4 separate regions of the Homo sapiens genome follow, and all the other regions are linked to region 2. The links are contacts of gene promoters, found by promoter capture Hi-C in blood cells and fetal thymus (Javierre and others, 2016). All regions are on one chromosome and are shown on one strand. The core of a region is centred on a gene start or on the middle of the fragment in contact, and the rest is flanking DNA. Distances in the headings are between cores, read along the strand shown. Region 1 has its middle 270 kb from the start of MYT1L. Region 2 holds the start of RPS7 (ribosomal protein S7). Region 3 has its middle 310 kb from the start of MYT1L. Region 4 has its middle 360 kb from the start of MYT1L.

Region 1 (3,099 bases), core at 366-2,865, 980 kb before region 2:
AAGTTCGATTGGAACTGAGCTACACCCACTGTACGGCTGACCAGCGTGGTGACACTGAGAAGTCACTGATTCTCTGTGAGCCTCAGTTACATCATTTTTAAAATGAAAATGATTACTGACATCTGAGTTTTACTGTAAGGACTAAATGTGAATTTGCCTGGTGGTACCAGCACACAGTAGGCAATTTGTAAATACTCAACAAATCAACAGCTATCTCTCAACCCATCCTTATACATTGATTTATGGTGTAATTAAAATACTTAAATGGAATGATGCATTTCAAAACTCCTTAGTACTCTATAGCTTTGAGTGATGCTCACTGCTTTCACCGAGTTACTAAATTCAGCGCGTTGAGCTTGAGCTGCCTTAGACGCACGTGATTGTTCCATGTAGAGGGAATGCCCCTTCACCCATCAGTCCACACCAACTGCCTTGACAGTCAGTGTTACCTGCACTCCGTTGTGAGTCTTTCTAGGGAAAGTTGGCCCTTGGATGCTTGGCTCATGCTGTGGTCTGTTTGGACTCAGTAACAACCTCAGCAGCAACCACCCCAAACACAGCAAGAAGCAGAAATATACACACTGGGAAAAGGCATTCCCTGTCAACAAAAATAGCAGAGATGTTGAAGCCATAGTCTTGCACCTTGGAGGAAGGATGGCACAGTGGGAAAACCCTGGAGATGGACATCTTACTGCAGCTAACAAAGTGCATGGTTTTAGACATGTCGACATCCTCACTGGATCTTAATTTTTTTTGGTTTATCTAAAGCAAAGCAGCGGCAATTGGGTTTTTTGGAGCATTGACTTTACTCTAAGAATGGTCTTCTAGTTCTAATATACACCAGCACGTGTTTAGATCAGAGTGGGAAGGATGGAAGAAATCATTCAGATGGGAAAGTGTTGAAGAAACTAGACTCAAGAAGATCTCAGTAGCTTTCCCCAAATTACTGAAAGACTGCCATAAAAAGAGGACAGATTTGCTCCGTGTGGCCTTGTAGATTGCAGCTAAGATAAGCAGCAAGAAACTCCAATTTTCCAATTGTGTAAGTGAAAATGTCTTCGTGATCCTAATCATAAGCAGGATGATCTCCATGAGAAGCAGAGGGTTCTCTGTTACAAGGAGCGTTCAAACATATTGCATTACCATTTCGAAGGGATTTAAATTCAGCGGGTCTGGGCTTTGAGAGACATTTACAGGGACACTGTCCATGGCCACACTGACTGTGCACTCAAAAGGCAGGGGGACCACCCCCGAAGTCAGCCCCGTGATGGTGCCCCCAGAAGCTGTGGAAGGAGGAACACGGAACATGGAACACAGAAGTTGTGTAAAGGCCCTGGCCATTAGGCCTTTTCCAGCCTTGAGCATCTCTGAGCTAATCATGGCATCACCTGCAGATCTCTCAGCCACTTCAGAGCCCTCTCGTTCTGTGAATCTATGAAAACACCACTGCTGCCAGAAATTTGTGTTGCTTCATCTTAGTGTTTTTTAAAATATTGTGTTGTGTTAAACCTGTCTTTAAACTTAGACCAGTAAAATCTGATAATAAAATCTTACTGATTCTAAAAGGAGTCCAGTGCTCTTCTTTCTAATGAAAGTTAACAGATAATATCACTGAGGCACTAGCATCTAATGTATGTATGTGGGTATGCCCTTGTGTGTACTGAGCAAGCATAACTCATGTCATAATCAACTAGAACGCAGCTCAATGGTTAGCATTTGGTCCTTTAAGAGTTTTTCAGTGAAAATATTTTTCCCAAAAAAAACCTCTCTTTGTCTATTTTATTCATTTTTAGGTACTAGACAATGTTAGGGTAACTTAAATCACAGAGTCTCAATTCAAAAGTTAGATCGTTGAGAGCAAATATGAATCAAAGCTGTGAATCTGATTTCACAGCACAGTCTCCTGTGCTGCTGTGGCTTGGCCTGGAGTGGAAAAGAAGCCTGCATTTAGCTTCCCTGTTTCTCTTCCAGCCCTTCTCCCTCCTCCTACACCCAGCTTTTAGTTTGCTGGGCCCTCTCCCATGTTGGAGCCCGGAGAAGCAAGATGAAGGACAGAAGCATTCTTGTTACGCTCATGCTGTTATAAGCTGGCCTTCCACTCTCTGTGGCAGATTTTTGAAACAGATTCTTTCTCTCACGGACACTTCTGAGTGTTTTTTGAAAATTAGCTTTGCTGTGGCTTCTCTCCTGCCGTGCCTCTGACCCGGTAGATGAATCTCTCTTGTGGGAGGCTGTATGACTCCTCCCACGGTTCCCAGTGAGTGTGTGTCCTCCACCAACTTCTTGGCGCTGGGTCCCTCTGCCCCCCTTGGCAGAACTTCTGGAGAGATCTGTCGGCAACCTGCTCTCAGGTCTCTCTTCCCCACACAGCATGTTAAACTCTTATCCAATCCTTACTTCAATAAACTCCAGGAGTGTGCAGACCCCTCTCAACACAGCAGCAAGAGGCTGAATGGCGTCCTCCAGCAGAGGCAGACACCAGGAGACTCTCTTGTCAGCTGCAGGGGACATAGACTTTGAAGTTCCCTCTCACCAGGACTGGAGACACAAAATAATGCTAAAACATTTCTTCACACCTTTTCCTTTCCCCCCAGCCCAGCAATTGTGTATTCAGAGTGGGTGAGGAAGTTCGGGAGTGGAGGAGTTATTCTGAGTGATTTCCTTTGTTGAGTCTGCTTAGAGGGTTTCCCCCTCTCCTGGATGTCTGATAGCTGCCAGATGGATGCTTCCATTGACATCGAGGCAGGAAAATTACCATTTGACATCCTACTTCACATACAAGACATAATTTCCTATGAAACGTATTTAACATAATATATAACATATTTAATAGCACCCTGCCAAGGTAGGCTTAATTGTCTCCATTTACATAGAAAGAAAGTCAGACTTGACGAAGTGGAGTAATCTGGGGGCGCACATAGGCAACAAGAGGCAGAGCTGAGATTCCGCCGGACGCCAGGAGCCCTTTGCACGAGACCTGTGATTTCTCAGCTTGAACATGTACCGTAATCACCTGGAGGGCCTGGGGAATGCTGAGCCGCACCCCAAGAGCTTCTGATTCAGGTATGGGGTGGGGCCTGATAATTTACGTTTCTAACT
Region 2 (3,108 bases), core at 322-2,821:
AAAAAAACCTCTCAGAAATAGAAACAGAGGGAACTTCCTGAATTTGATTAAAAATACCTGCAAAATCCTAGAGCTAATATTATACTTAATGGTGAAAGACTGAATGGTTTTCCCCTAAGATGGAGAACAAGGCACGGATGTCCTTGCTCACCACTCCTATTCAACAAAGGACTGGAAACCAGAAATAACTTTAATTTTTTTTGTTCTCAAGTGATAGGTTCACAGAGAAAAAGCTTTACTGGATGAACTTTTAGATTACTACTTTTATAGAGCAGCAGAGATAAAAGCCAGGTCGAAAAGTGCATGTGGAGTAAGGAAATGGACCTAGTTCGACAAAAGGGCTCAGAACGACTGCCCAGATGAGATTGTAGACGCAGCTGTAGTTTACTTTCTATCTGGAAGAAACTTCAAGTTATCCTTAATTTTCCAAGGAGACAGTCACTTACCTTTTAAAAAACATTATTAGAGAAGCACCGGGCGGGAGCATATCTAGCATTAAAAATGTGGGATGAATACCATCTCTGCTTGGTAAAGGTGGTTGGGAATCCTGAGAGAGGGCACCTAGTGTGGCTTCTGCATTTTTCACAGTGCCTGGACCACGGCTGAAAGTAACTCTTGCATGACATTTGACAGAAGAGGAAACCGAAGCTCAGATTAAATTCCCTGTCCACAGCGGGATCATTCGGCACGAGTTCCTCCCTGTCTGGAATGCTCTTCCCCAGCAATAGATCCTGCGGCTCTTCCGTGTCTCAGTCTAATGTCATTCCGTTCCAGGATTCCCGACTTCTTAAAGCATAAATAATCCCTCCCCACCCTCTCATTGTACTGTTATGTAAGTTATTACAATATGTCATTATATATTTAGTCATACTGCTTTAGGTAATGTCTTCTCCACTGAACTGTAAGCTCCATGAGGGCAAGAGTTCAGTCGGTTTTACTTAATAATTAGCACCTAGTACAGTACTAGCATAGAATGAAGGCCTCGCAATTTTTTTTAAATTTATTTTTAGACAGGGTCTTGCGCTGTCGCCCAGGCTGGAGTGCAGTGGTGCAACCTCGGCTCACGGCAGCCTCGACCTTTCGGCTCCAGCGATCCTCCCGCGTCGGCCTCCGGGGTAGCTGGGACTGCAGGCGCGCACCACCATGACTGGCTAATTTTTTTTTTTTTTTTTTTGTAGACATGGGGTCTCGCCATGTTGCCCAGGCTGGTTCCTGAGCTCAAGTGATCCTCCTGCCTCGGCCTCCCAAAGTGCTGGGATTACAGGCGTGAGCCTCAGCGCCCAGCCAAGTTAGCCTTTTTTAAACGTCCTGTCTCCGGAGGTTGCCGAAGTTGGTTTTCTTCGGCCTCCTTCTCTCTCCCAGGCCCAGGGCTGGGACGAGGCCGGTTCCCGCCTGCAACCTGCACTGAAGACGGGAACCTTGGGAGCCGGTACCGGAACGCTCGGAAACGGCACCAAAGTACGAATCCTAGGGCGGAAAAGCGTTACCAAGACACTCGTCCCCAGAGCCGCTTCCTGGGACTCTCTAGCCTCCTACCGCTTCTCAGTGATGTTCCGGTTTCCGCCCTCCTCCTCGCGCTGTTTCCGCCTCTTGCCTTCGGACGCCGGATTTTGACGTGCTCTCGCGAGATTTGGGTCTCTTCCTAAGCCGGCGCTCGGCAAGGTAGGTTGGCGGCCTGCTCTCCGACAGAACTTTTCTTCTTGGGTTGAGGAAAACGCCTTTTGGAGTCAGGCCCTGGAGGGGCGAGCCTTGCTCACAGGGTGGGGATACAGCCGATTACCCGCCCTGTGCTTTCCGATGGCTTCTGCGGGGCGAGCGGGGCCTGGCCGGGGGGTGCGGGCGGGAGGGCGAGCCAGCGGCGCCTGCAGCCCGGGCCGCGTAACGCTGACCGCTGTGCCTTCAGTTCTCCCAGGAGAAAGCCATGTTCAGTTCGAGCGCCAAGATCGTGAAGCCCAATGGCGAGAAGCCGGACGAGTTCGAGTCCGGCATCTCCCAGGTGAGAGGGTTTCCCTGGGGTCTGGGGTGGGGGGAGGCGCCCCGCCCGGGAGGGGAGGCGGCCGCGCGTGTGTTGGGCCCGGGGTGCTCGGACGCGCGCTCAGGGTCGGTCCTGCTGTTCGTTGCTTCTTAGGCTCTTCTGGAGCTGGAGATGAACTCGGACCTCAAGGCTCAGCTCAGGGAGCTGAATATTACGGCAGCTAAGGTAAGCTGGCGCTCCCTCGGCTGGGAGGGAGGTTGCGGCGCGTCTCCCCGCGCAGTGCCTGAGAGGGTTGGACCTGGGTTACGGTTGATGATGACTTGCCGCCTGGCCGCCTAACCTGAACTCAGGTTCGGCCGTGTTGTTTGGGAGTGATACCGCCCAGGTGCGGGGAGTGGGGTTGCAGGTACCCTGCGGCTTAAGCTGTCCACATGCGGGCGGTGGAGAAACGTGGAGTAGGGAGGGCCTGGGCCCATTTCGGACCTTATTTGCCCTTACTTAGTTATAGATACGGCAAAGAGCTGTGGGGAGCTCAGGATGAGATTCTCTCTACCCTTAGCCCGGAGTTGCCGCAAGTGGGGGTGCAGAAGTGGTAGTGATTGGCCTCCTGGCCTGAACAGTCTCCCTTCCTGGAATAAGGAAATGTGAAGGTTGGAGAGAGATGAGAACATTTCCGAAGGATGCATTTATGATTAACTCAAAACTAGTATTAGTTTGTAGTGCAGCTACGGTGTTAGTGATAAGGTCTTCTTATCCTCTAATTTGACCACAACGTTTACTTTCTGAAGCAGTTAACACAGTGGATTTTTGTTTTTTTCTTTAGGAAATTGAAGTTGGTGGTGGTCGGAAAGCTATCATAATCTTTGTTCCCGTTCCTCAACTGAAATCTTTCCAGAAAATCCAAGTCCGGCTAGTACGCGAATTGGAGAAAAAGTTCAGTGGGAAGCATGTCGTCTTTATCGCTCAGGTATCTGTTCTACTGTTGCAGCACGTTTCTGTTTGTGAATTTTGCTAAAATTGCTTGTATTTAGACTGCATTGGTAGTTGGAGTCATGAAAACAATCCTTTTATGAATCCAATTGGGTAGAAAGATAAAGTACAGGCAGAGCGCCGTGGCTTAGGCCTGTAATCCC
Region 3 (3,446 bases), core at 33-2,532, 930 kb before region 2:
AACGAGGGCAGCCCAGGATGCAGGGAACAGGCGGCACACAGAGGCCAAACCTTAACCCCTCAGCGCTGAGAAATGGGCTCCCACGCAGCTGCACCTTGATCGCAGTGGGCTCACAAGCAGGGCAAGACTGAGCCACGTGGTGTGAAATTTGATTGCCATGGTGCTGAGCAGGCGTGGGACTGGCACGACACTGGGGATCTCTGCTGTCACATTTCCTTACACTGAACAGCTTGGCTTCTGGCGGAGGAGGCACTTTGGCCGTAAGAGGCTGAGTCCTGACTTGCCAGCCCCGGATGCCCACCAGCCGCTGTGTCTGCGCCAGATGCTCTGTGCCCCATGCTAGAGGCTGGCTGTGCTCTGGGGTTTGGTGCCTCTTTCTGTCACTGGGAAGGGACCCAGGGGTCCATCCAGCCCCTTCTTGGGCATAGACATCAGGGAATGTCAGGTCATTCTGTCGCATGCCCAGGAAGCTCAGGCCACAGTAAGCAAGCCAGGCTGGACGACATCACCGGGGTCAATGTCAGCCCACGTTGGCCACCAGACGTCCTGGAGCACCAGGGTTTCAGCAGCTGGACTGGGGCCTCCTCCAGCCCGTGGGCCCCTGGGCTGTCTCCCCTTGTCTGACTTGGTGCCAACTCGAGAGAATCTGGTCCCAGCAGAGGGAATGCAGGAGGCCCAGCCTAGGCACAGGGGTTGCTGCCAGCCCCGACCCGGCTGAGGCCCCAGCAAGCCGTGAAGCAGAACCTGTCCAGGTGGCATCCTTAACTTCTTGCCCTAATATTACACTAACGCCAGCGACAGAGCACACAGCAACACAACAACAACCACACACCACCACAACAACACAACATCACAACACAACAACAGCACACACCACCACCGCCACCACATTACATTCCCACCAGTGAGAGAGCACACGACAACACAACAACCATGCAACCACACAACCACACCACACACCACCACCACCGCAACACAACATCACAACACAACCACACAGCAGAACAACAACCACACACCACCACCATATTACATTCCCACCAGTGACAGAGGACACAACCACACAACAACAACACAACCACACAACACAACCACACCACACAATACCACCACATCACAACACAACCACACAGCAGAACAACCACACAACCACACTACACCACCACCACCACCAGTGGCAGAGCACACAACAACACAACCACACAACAATGACACAACCTTATCACACACCATCACAACATCACAACACAACCACACAATGACAGAACAAAACACAATCACAGAACCACACCACCACACAAAATCACAACAACACAACTGCACAACAGAAAAACAATAACACAACAACACAACACTACACAACACAACACCACCACCACAACAGCAGCAGCAGAGCGTCCCGGAGTTCCCCGCCTGCTCTGGAGGCTGTGGCCTGGCCACACAAGCTCTTCCCCTCCTCAGTCTTCCACAGGGATTCCTGCCTGGTCAGGCCTCTTCTCGGAGACTTGGTGAAGTAGAAGCGGGCAGAGATAGGCAGGAGCTGCAAGCTAAAAGCCACCAATGACCAGACTGGAGGAGAACCTGGGGTGGGAGATCGCTGAGCTGAGCTCAGGAGCAGGTGTGGATTGAGAGGAGCACGTGGCTGTGCCCTGTCCTCTGGGCTCAGAGCCCCTGGGACTGCATCCTGTGAGAGCAGCTCTTGCCACCACCTCCCCTCCACCTCTGAGCACCCTGTCCACCATTCCAACCACCATGTCCCCTCCACCTCTGGGCACCCTGTCCACCATTCCAACCACCACCTCCCCTCCACCTCTGGGCACCCTGTCCGCCGTTCCAGCCACCACCTCCCCTCCACCTCTGGGCACCCTGTCCGCCGTTCCAGCCACAACCTCCCCTCCACCTCTGGGCACCCTGTCCGCCATTCCAGCCACAACCTCCCCTCCACCTCTGGGCACCCTGTCCGCCGTTCTAGCCACCACCTCCCCTCCACCTCTGGGCACCCTGTCCGCCGTTCTAGCCACCACCTCCCCTCCACCTCTGGCCACCCTGTCCACCCTTCCACCCACTGCCTTCAGAAAACCTGGCCTCCTCGGCTGCCTGCACCTTGTGTGCTCCCAGATCTCTGTGTGGCTCCCACACAGCACTCGGCCGTTCTGCCTGACATGGAAAGGACCAGGGCTGAACACGGTAGCAGCGCCTGCATGGCGCAGGCTGTGGAGTTGACAGAACTCTTCCACACATTGTCTAAGTGTCTCTTGTACAACCTTGTGAGAAAGGACACTGATCAGAGGCCATGGGGCTCGCCAGCATCCACGCTCTCCCCTCCTTCCTGGGCACACAGCTGGGCTCGTATCTCCAGCCCCCTTGGGCTGCAAGGTGGAGCTCTGGTCACCGGAATGTGAGCCGAGAGCCCAGCCCCACTTCCAGCCATGAACCTGAGAGGCCCCTATGAGCCTGAATTTCCTCCCCAGTGGGCTGATGGGGGAACCCTTTGAGGACCGGCGGGAGGAGCCACCACATGGAAGGGCCCTGCTGATCACCATTCTCCTGCAACGCGAGACACAGCCAGGGCGGGGGTCAAGGAGGCTTCCAGGGGCACACTGTGAGCAGGAGCCCTCTCTGGACCCCGCAGGGTCAGGTGGCCTTACTTTCATTCTGCACCCCGCAGGGTCAGGTGGCCTCACCTTCATTCTGTACCCGTGGCACCTGCTTGCCTCAGTTGGCTCTGACCATGGTGAGAAACAGACCTCAGTGTTGCCAAGCCACTGAAATCAGGTTTCCTATAGGAGTTATAGGAATTCAGCTCTATAGCAGTTATACTCATCCTAACTAATACAGGTGGATGGGTATTCTGTGTTTTTTTATTCAAAAGTGAGGAAACCATGGTTTTAAAGCTCTGTGATTTACCCGAAGTCACACAGCAGAAAACTGAGCCGAACTCCTGTTAGCATACAAGGTGCCAGTGTAGACCATCTGGTGGGTTTATTCTGCTGCTTCACACACCTGGCACCGACCCCCTCGCATCCAGGGCATGTGTGAGTGCAGAGACCCTGGGGGTTATTCTATTATTTACCCCACACAAGCCTCACACAGAACCTCGCATGGCATAGATGGTGCTCAAGAAACTGATGAATGGATAATCCCTGGGTTAATGTGGAATGCAAGTTTTCTGTAAGTTTAGTTTATTTAATTCAACTTTAAGTTGGATAATTATTGTTTACTTTGGGAAAAAATTGTTGAATTTCAGTTGTTGAAGTCTGTGAATGACCCTTGAGTTTAAAAGTTAGGGAAGGATGAGCCTGAAGAGCTTTAATTAATGCACTGAAGAAGGGTGTGACAGAAGGCTTTGCACTCGTCACACCTACGCATCTTGTCTCCAGGAGGTAACAGGGAGGGTGCGGGGGAGGCTGCTGAGTGGTTTTGAAATTATACAGAGCTGGATTTGA
Region 4 (3,405 bases), core at 107-2,606, 890 kb before region 2:
CACAGCAGCAGGGATCCCTAATGAGTTAATATAAGACACTGTTACTTCCAATACACAGACATGTTTAAGAGTTGCTATTGTGTGGCTTATGTCATAGAACAGAAGGAAGTTAAATGGATTGGCCGGGTGGCTGGCTGCTTTTTGATTTGTTTGTTCACCTACTTCGCTTTGTTTCCTTCCTATCTTAAGGAATTTCTTGATACAATTATTCATTTATTCATTTAACAAATATTCTTACCTCCTGTTCCTAATGATAATAATAGCAGTTGCTGTGTCTATTGAATTCTTAAATGTACCAGACATTATGTTAGTAATTCTATGTGTGTGCTATCTCCTCATTACATTAGACCTAAAAATGGGTGTTCTATTTCCATTTTGCACATAAGGAAATAGAGGGTAAGGTGTGGGCAGGTGCTGTCTCTAGGGGTAGAGTGTGGGGCAGACATTCTTTCCCTTTAAATGACTTGTTAGATTTTACATAGGGCCACAAAGATGAATACATCTCCCACTGCCTCTGAGAAGCTTATACAGATGAAAATATGTAAAACAAGGTTAAAAGTGACAAAAGACATAAGAAAGTCTGATAGAAAGGTGAAGAAAATTCAGAGAAGAAAGGATCATTCTCTACTGGGGGGATTAGGGAAGGTTGTCTAGAAAGGGGATTCGGAGAAGAGGGAAAGGGGCGAGGAGCAGAGGCTGGAAAGCACAGAGAACCCAGGCAGGCTCATTCTGATGAGATCATCGAGACACGAAGATTTGATGTTTTACATTAGCAAAATTATATATTATAACAGAATTGTCTAATCACACAAGAACACTTATAAAAACTGTGGCAGATGTATGCAGAGAGAGCACAGGAAGTGGTCACGTGAGGAGCCAAAGCCTGCAAAGGAAACAGCCGCAGCAGCCAGGAGGGACGGGATGCAGAGGAGCAGCTGGGAGGTCTAGGAAAAGGGCAGGTCAAGCTCTCCTATGTCCAGTGCAGAGACGGACCAAGCAAAACCAAGGCTGGGTTGTATCTGCTTCCTTTACCATCAAAGAGGACATCGCTGAGCTCAGGGAAACGTGGGATGAAGGAAGAACAGAAGAGGAAGGCAGAGAGGACGGCAGGGACTCCATCTGAGGGGAGATAGCAGATGAAGAGGAAGAAGATAGATGATTCTTTCAGGAAGGAAGGATGTGAAGAGAAGAAATAAGCAGCACTTGGAGCGGGCAAGGGAACCAAGAAATGTTCTTACTTTACTTTTTCTTTTTTTTTTTTTGTATTTTTTTTGGAAGAGACGGGTTTCGTCATGTTGCCCAGGCTGGTCTTGAACTCCTGAGCTCAGGGTATCCGCCCGCCTCAGCCTCCCAAAGTGCTGGGATTACAGGCTTGAGCCACCGCATGTGGCCCTGTTCTTACTTTTTAATGTGCTGTTTAAGTGGGAGAGACATAAGCACATGATGTGCCTGCAGGAAGGGGCCCAGGGTGACTGAGGTGGAGGATGCAGGAGCCAGCGTGGGCCCTGGAGAAGGCAGGAGCCAGGAGTGAGAAGAGCTGCAAGCAGGGGCCTGGCCGTGGGAAGAGGCCTCCACCTGTCACATGGAAGTCTTGCTAGGGAGAAGGAAATCATCCTTATAAACACACACCAGGGCCTGCTGGGGGATGGAGGGCGAGGTGAGGGAACTTCGAGGACAGGTCAGTGGGTGTAGCAAACCACAATGCACACGTTAACCTATGTAACAAACCTGCACGCTCTGCACATGTATCCTGGAACTTAAACTAAAAAATAAAAATAAACTATCTTCATGCATCCTTTTTCACCTGCATTTCTGATGACATAATTAGTACAGATAAATGACCCACAGTTTGATGTATCCGTCTCAGGCCCCCCACCCCCCGCACTCTGCCAACCACTCAAGCCCACAGGCCCGCCTCCCTCCTCAGCAGGCCTTCGAGAGGCCCCACCTACCTCCCAGCCTTGGAGACAGAGGCAGGATCCTGGGGGAACAAACAGCTCCTTGATGTCCTGTCACCCCCAGCTGATCAGGAGCTTATGGGAGAGAGAGTCCTCTTCAAAAAATTGTCTTTACATGGTGCATGAAAACATGCTACTGGACAAATTTTAGTAGAATAAAACTAACAATTAGCAGGAAAAATTGTTTAGATTAAAAGAGGTTATTCAGATTTTTTAGGAGTAAAACTCAAAAGAAGCTTGATATTTTAAAATATATTATTGCAACTGAAAACCTAACTATGAGAGTTAGAATTGCATGTCCTGAGGATGGACGTTTGTCAGGATTGGAGCCCAGGCTTTAAGGGGGTCCTGGCAGTCCCCTCCTGGCACTGTCACCCTGGCAGCCTCTCCTCCCCTGTGAGGGTGGATGGGACCTGCGGCTGGTTTCTACTCAGCAGAATGTGCCAGTTGCAGGGGTTAGGGACACCATGCCTGTGATCACACTGCACTACCCTGGATGCCGCCTCTCCAGGAGACTCACACTGGAGGTTCTCCTTGCTGGCTTGATGAAGCAAGAAAGACCTGCCAGCAAGGAACTGCGGATGACCTCTAGGAGCTGAGAATGACCTCGAGGAACTGAGGGTGTCCTCCAAATGATGGACAGCAAGGACCTGGGGCCAGTGATCCTGCAAACACTAGGAGATGGATTCTGCAACCACCTATGTGAGCATGGAGGTGGATTCTTTCACAGTCGAGCTTCTAGAGGGGAATGCACCCTGGTCAGCGTCTTAATTGCAGCCTTGTGAGACCAGAACCAAAGCCCCTGCTAACCTGAGCTCTGACTCCTGCCCCACAGGAACTACAAGATCATAAATACTGTTTATGCCACTGCATTGTGGTCATTTGTTACCAGCCGTGGATGACTGACAGGTGACAGGAAACCTCCTGGCAGCTCCTCTCACCTGCTTCCTCCCTATGTAGGGCCTCTCTTGACATCCCTGGCCACGAACGCAAGCCTCTTCCCAGCCCCACCACACTCACGGGGCTGATGAACTTTAGGCTGCCTGTGCTGGTTTTGGACAATTTCTCTCATTCTTCCCATTGGTGATTTGATATCCTACTTTCTCTCGGTTTCTCAGTGTGAGGGAGACCCAGACACATCACAGGTCTGTCCTTAGTGAACCGGGCACACAACTGGGGCCTGTTTCTTAGACCCCTTGCACACTCCACACTATATGTCTCAGCGTGGTGTCGAGTTTGTAGTTTGGTTCCTCCTGATAATATTCATGTTCAAATTGAGATGCTTCACCTCTTAGAGTAGCAAGGATACAATGCACTTTGTCAAAAAACAGTACGTTTGTTGTTGAATCAAATGGTCTTCCAGGGGGACGGCTTTTTGAAATCCTTGAAAATAGTGAATGGGAACTCAGTGGTTAACAGAACAAGGTGTCCTGGTCAACACGGCACA

What was found. The method cuts DNA at HindIII sites, captures the fragments that hold promoters and counts their contacts. A CHiCAGO score of 5 or more calls a contact.
Region 1: a fragment that was not itself captured here is called in contact with the fragment with the promoter of RPS7 in region 2 in 2 of 17 cell types (naive CD8 T cells and activated CD4 T cells); the score reaches 6.8 in naive CD8 T cells.
Region 3: a fragment that was not itself captured here is called in contact with the fragment with the promoter of RPS7 in region 2 in 5 of 17 cell types (fetal thymus, naive CD4 T cells, naive CD8 T cells and 2 more); the score reaches 12.4 in fetal thymus.
Region 4: a fragment that was not itself captured here is called in contact with the fragment with the promoter of RPS7 in region 2 in 5 of 17 cell types (fetal thymus, naive CD4 T cells, non-activated CD4 T cells and 2 more); the score reaches 18.9 in fetal thymus.

The regions. Positions count from the first base shown.
Region 1 is chr2:2,598,395-2,601,493 of GRCh38, forward strand. No RefSeq gene overlaps it. Among named protein-coding and RNA genes, the nearest start is that of MYT1L, 270 kb to the left of the region's middle. The HindIII fragment of the contact is 5,035 bases long and covers 1-3,099 here.
Region 2 is chr2:3,573,689-3,576,796 of GRCh38, forward strand. It overlaps RPS7 (ribosomal protein S7), which reads left to right and starts at 1,572. Exons shown (of 7, transcript NM_001011.4): 1 at 1,572-1,662; 2 at 1,904-1,996; 3 at 2,129-2,200; 4 at 2,799-2,942. The coding sequence starts at 1,922. It overlaps LOC124907726 (a long non-coding RNA gene), which reads right to left and starts at 1,421. Exons shown (of 2, transcript XR_007086196.1): 1 at 447-1,421. RefSeq lists enhancers at 1,125-1,700, 1,701-2,277 and a silencer at 1,829-2,118. The HindIII fragment of the contact is 5,628 bases long and covers 232-3,108 here.
Region 3 is chr2:2,643,113-2,646,558 of GRCh38, forward strand. No RefSeq gene overlaps it. Among named protein-coding and RNA genes, the nearest start is that of MYT1L, 310 kb to the left of the region's middle. The HindIII fragment of the contact is 6,388 bases long and covers 1-3,446 here.
Region 4 is chr2:2,685,544-2,688,948 of GRCh38, forward strand. No RefSeq gene overlaps it. Among named protein-coding and RNA genes, the nearest start is that of MYT1L, 360 kb to the left of the region's middle. The HindIII fragment of the contact is 1,672 bases long and covers 521-2,192 here.